Linked DNA regions of Homo sapiens: region 2 is linked to region 1. The links are contacts of gene promoters, found by promoter capture Hi-C in blood cells and fetal thymus (Javierre and others, 2016). All regions are on one chromosome and are shown on one strand. Each heading gives the region's core, a stretch centred on a gene start or on the middle of the fragment in contact. The rest is flanking DNA. Distances are from core to core; before and after follow the strand shown. Region 1 holds the start of MRGPRF (MAS related GPR family member F). Region 2 has its middle 67 kb from the start of LINC01488.

Region 1 (2,693 bases), core at 80-2,579:
CCTCTCTACCATCTGCGTCCCTCCATTATGTGGGTGTCCCTGTGCATTTGTCCTTGTCCTGCCAGGGACAACCTGAAAAGCGATTTCACGCATGCACAGAAAGATCTAGAAGCCAGCAGACCCCAGATGGGCCATATTAAAGGACATGTGTGTGACACGTGGATGGGGCGTGCGTGTCAGTACATGTGTATGTGTGTTCCTCTGGGTGGGATCTGGGCTGCTATGACAGAACTAGTTTCCACTGAAGCTGACCCAAAAAGCTGCCAGCACAGCTCACACCTGACCCTCCCCTCGGAGCAAGCCCAAGGGTGGCCTGGCCACCTGTCAGCCTCCTGCAGCCTTGCCCGCAGGAAGCTCCTCCTCTCCCTTCACTCCATCCCACCATGACCCAGCCCCGACGCCGCTGGGGCTGTCCCAGCCCCTCTCCTTAGCCGCTTGTGCCGCCATCAGAGGGGCCTGTCTCGCTCCCCCAGACACAGAGCCTCTGTTTTCCTCACTCCGGGTCTGGAGTCCCCTGCTTAACAGCTTGGATTGAAGAGGCTTGTCTGGGGGGACTGAGACCTTGCAGATCATTCCAGGAGCCGCCTCCATCCAAGGCCAACAGCTTCATCAGGCCGCAGGCCTGGGAGAAGGTGGGACTGCAGTTGCCCAACATCCTGTGGCTGCCCACACGGACACCCCATGTGCACCCCAGGGCTGAGAGCAGGGGGAGCCATCTCCCTGTGTGTGGGACACTGCCTGCTGGGTGTTCCGTTCCAGCCCCTCTAGAATGCATGCTTGAATGGCCAGTGAGGCTGGGGGAGGGACCGAGAGGGAGCCCTCACCCCCAGCAGCACAGAGCAGGAGCTGGACGGTGGGGCTGGGGGTGAGGCCAGCTGAGAGGGGTCAGGTCCTGCCACGGGAGGGGGACTTTTAAAGTTCCTCCATGGCCCTGGAACCCTGGAGCCTCAGGAGTGGCAGGGGAGCTTCTCCGGTGAGTGACAGCCTCTCTGGGGTCTCAGGGCTCCCTGCCTGGGGCCTTAGGATTTCTGGGAGCTGCCTGCCCCGACAGCGTCCACCTCTCTGCCCCTACAGTGCCCGCGTCATTTTCCTTCCCTGCCTGGCCCTCACCCTGCAGCCCCGGTTGTTGGAACACCCTCCCCTGGACCCTGGGCCCCTGGAGCTACCTGCAGCTGTCCTGATCCGCCGAGGCCTCCTTTTGTGGAGGGCTCTTCCTGTGACTCCCGCCTCCGGCCGGCGGACCCGCCGGGGCAGCAGGCCAGCGCCGAGCGCGGCCCGGAGCCTTGGAAAATAGGAGCTCAGAGTAGAGCCCTCTCCTGCTGGAAGAGATGGCTTTGGAAGCAGAACCCGCCCCAAACCCAATTCCTGGCCCGGCAGGAGGGGGAGGGGGAGGGGAGTAGGAGGAGGGGCTGAGCAGGGCTGAGCGGGGATGAGGCTTCAGGAAGGAATGCCCCGCTCAGGAGCCCCCCCCAGAGCCCCACCGGGAACTCATCTCTCCGCCTGGTGACGTCACGTTGGCCCGAGCACTGCAGCCCGAGTCCAGCTGTTCATCTCCCTCACATTCTGCTGCTCGGCAGGGCTGCCCAGGAGAGGGAGCACCGGCTGTACACTTGCCTGGCGTCTTTGGTCTGCCCCCAGTGGGCATTTCGGGGCAGGCTGGCCCAGGAGGGGCTAGTCCCCACCCCGTTGTTTTAATTTACTCAGGGGCTGATACAGAGCAGTGGGGGGCAGCAGGGCGAGGGCTCCATGGAGGGGCAGTGCAGAACTGGCAGAGGTGGTCAGCACCGCCCAAGCGGCACCCCTCCCCCTTCCCACCCCGGACTCGGCCTGGGCCCCCTGGGGGCTTATGGAACCAGGAATTCCCTTTTCCCCAGCCCTAATAGCAATCAGATGGCGCAAGTGGAAAATCACGGCGCTCGGCAAGCAAGCTGGAAATTGGCGGGCTGTGGTGCCTGGTGCCTGCGCTGCTCAGCGGGAGGATGAGTCAGGTCCCCCTTCCCCATTGAGCCCCTGGAGGCGGGCGGTGGGGGGGGGTCCTGGAACGCGTTCATGCCTGGGGCACTGAGCATTGGTAGGGGTGGGGGTGCAGAGTCGGGGGTGCGGGAGCCAGCAGGGTGGCCAGGAGGAGGGGGTGATGAGAAGGCTCCCCTCCTACCCTGGGCCAACTTTCTCAGGGTCCAGGAAGCCCGAGGGAATTCTGAACTTTCCCTGCAGGAGTGTAGTGCCCAGACTGGGAGAGATGTGCCTCTGTGGGCATCTTGAAGGGAAATGAGAAGCGGAGCTGCCCCTGCACCTGCGCTGGGAGCTGCCTGCCTCCTGCTTGTCCTGGCCATGTGCGAACCTCAGCGTGGAAGAGGGACTCTCGCACTGCTCCCTGCGCGGCTCAGCTGGCCTCCTGGGGTCCGTTTTTCAGGGATGGGGTGAGGAGGGACTCTGGGATCCTGGAGGCTCACGGGCCATGCCTGAGGCTGAGAGAGAGGCTGGAGGCAGCAGGCAGGGTGGTGACCCGTCCCCTCCTCTCCAGGGCAGCCAGCTGGGGCCCAGCTGGAACGCTTGTTTACATGGGGAGGCCGGGGGAGGCTGAATCCCGGCGAGTTCCAAGTGTAATTGCGTTTGGACACTTAAAAGGAATTGTGTGAAGTGGGCAGAGGCTCTGAAGTCCACCGCCTTATTTGGTATGGAAATCTGTTTCT
Region 2 (2,693 bases), core at 121-2,620, 540 kb after region 1:
TTAAAACATGATCGAGGGATCCATAAAAAATGACCAACAAGTTTTGAAAAAAGGCAGAATTTCTAGAAATGAAAAATGTAATTACTAAAATTAAAAACTCGCTGTGTGTTGAGTAGCTACATTAATTTCAGACAAAGTCAACTTTGGAGCAAAGAAAAGCTCCAGCATAAAAAGGGGCATTACATTCTGCTAAAAAGGATCAGGCCAGGCGTGGTGGTTCATGCCTATAATCCCAGCACTTTGGGAGGCCGAGGCAGGTGGATCATGAGGTCAAGAGATTGAGACCAGCCTGACCAACATGGTAAAACCCCGTCTCTAGTAAAAATACAAAAATTAGCCAGGCATGGTCATGCCCACCTGTAATCCCAGCTACTCAGGAGGCTGAGGAGGAGAATCGCTTGAACCCGGAAGGCAGAGGTTGCAGTGAGCCGAGATGGCGCCACTGCACTCCAGCCTGGGCGACAGAGCGAGACTCCATCTCAAAAAAAAAAAAAAAGAAAAAAAGAATCAATTCACTACGGACACTACAAAAACCCCAAATGTGTATCACCTAAGAGCAGAGCTTCCAAAGACATAAAGCTTACAGACTGACAGAACTGAAAAAAGAAATAGATAAATCCATAGTTAATAGTTGGAAACTTCAACACTCCTCCCTCAATAACAGAACTAATAGAAAATCATCAAGGATAGAGAAGAACCTAACAATACTATTATCATCTGGATCTATGAGACATTTAGAACATTCTGCCAACCAGGGGTGGTGGCTCTTGCCTGCAATCCCAGCACTTTGGGGGGCTGAGGAGGGTGGATCTCTTGAGCCCAAGAGTTTGAGGCTGCAGTGAGCTATGATCACATAACTTCAACAGAGTGAGACCCTGCCTCAAAAAAAAAAAAAAAGAGCATTCTACCCAAAAAAGCATAAAACATATTTTTCAAGTGCACATGGAGTATTCAGCAAGACAGACTATATTATGTCATAAAACAAACATTAACAAAGTTAAGGGAATTTAAATTATACAAAATATGTCCTATAATGCAATTAAACTACAAATTAATAACAGAAAAATCAGAGAAAAATATTCAAGCGCTTGGAAGTTAAACACCACACTTTGAAATAATGTATGACTCAAAGTCTCAAGAGAAACTTCAAAACATTTTGAACTAAACATAAATGAAAATACAACATGTCAAAATGTATGAAAAGCAGCTACAGCAGGGCTTAGAGGGAAATTTATAGTATTAAATGCTATTATAAAGAAGAAACGTCTCAAATCAATAAGCTAAGCTTTTATTCTTAAGAAACTAGAAAAGGAAGAGCAAAATAAATCCAAAGTAAACAGAAGGAAGGAAATAATAAAGACAAGAACAGAAATCAATGACATTGAAATCAGAAAAACCAAAGAGAAAAATCAATAAAACCAAAATATGGCTCTTTAAAAAGATCGATAAAATTGATGAAGCTTTAGCAAACTAACAAAGAGAAAAGAATACCTCACAGGTGTCAATAATGATTGAAAGGAATACTATGAACAATTCTGTGCACCTAAATTCTACATCTTAGACAAAATGAATGAATTTCTTGGACACAAACTACCAAAATTCATCCAAGATTAAATAAATAACTTGAATACTCCTATAACTATTAAACACGTTTAATGCATAGTTTTCTATTTGTTTTCAAAAAATAAATATCCAGTCCCACATGGTTTCACTGGCTAATTCTACCAAACATTGAAAGAAGAAATAACATTGATTGTTACCCAGAAAATAAAAGATTAAAGACTACTTCATGACACATTATATGAGCATTGCCTCAAAACTAGAAAAAGACTGTACCAAAAAGGAAAACTACAGACCAGATTCCTACATAAACACAAACACAGAAGTCCTCAGCAAAATATCCGTAAATAAAGTCCAGCATTATATGAAATACACCACCACCCAGTGGGGTTTATTCTCAGAAGGCAAGGATGGTTCAGTACTCAAATATCCATCAGTGGAATCCACCTTATCAATAACCTAAAGAAAAAACATATGATCATTTCAACAGACACAGAAAAAGCATTTAACAAAATGAAGCATCCATTCATGATAAAGTTCTCAGCAAAATACCGATAGAAGGGAACTTCTTCCATCTGATAAAGGACATCAACAAAAATCCTATATCTAGCATCATGCTTAATAAGTAAAGACTTTCCCCCAAAGATTGGGAACAAGGCAAGCATAGACACTCTCACCATTCTATTCAATATCATAGTAGAAATCTTAGCCAATAAAATAAGACAAGAAAAAAGAAATGAAAGCCTTGCAGATTGGAAAGAAATAAAACTGTCCCTGTCCTCAGGCAACATAACCACACTGAAAATCCCAAGAAGCCTATATTTTTTTAAAAAAAGACTCCTGGAACTAACAAGCAGGTTTTCAAGGTCCTAAGATAGAAGATCACCACACAAAAATTAATCTTATTTCTATACACTAACAATGCACAACTGGAGTGATTTTTTTTTTTTTAATTTCGAGATGGAGTCTCGCTCTATTGACCAGGCTGGAGTGCAATGGCACAATCTCAGCTCACTGCAACCTCCACTTTCTGGGTTCAAGCAATTCTCTTGCCTCAGTCTCCTGAGTAGCTGGAATTACAGGCACCTGCCACCATACCCAGCTAATTTTTGTATTTTTAGTAGAGATGGGGT

The links. The method cuts DNA at HindIII sites, captures the fragments that hold promoters and counts their contacts. A CHiCAGO score of 5 or more calls a contact.
Region 2: a contact is called between a fragment that was not itself captured here and the fragment with the promoter of MRGPRF in region 1, in 1 of 17 cell types (naive CD4 T cells). The highest score is 5.2, in naive CD4 T cells.

What each region holds. Positions count from the first base shown.
Region 1 is chr11:69,011,917-69,014,609 of GRCh38, forward strand. MRGPRF (MAS related GPR family member F) reads right to left here and starts at 1,330. Exons shown (of 3, transcript NM_145015.5): 1 at 1,167-1,330. It overlaps MRGPRF-AS1 (MRGPRF antisense RNA 1), which reads left to right and starts at 438. Exons shown (of 6, transcript NR_120541.1): 1 at 438-632; 2 at 1,875-1,988; 3 at 2,215-2,400; 4 at 2,525-2,675. The HindIII fragment of the contact is 10,508 bases long and covers 1-2,693 here.
Region 2 is chr11:69,547,507-69,550,199 of GRCh38, forward strand. No RefSeq gene overlaps it. Among named protein-coding and RNA genes, the nearest start is that of LINC01488, 67 kb to the left of the region's middle. The HindIII fragment of the contact is 175 bases long and covers 1,284-1,458 here.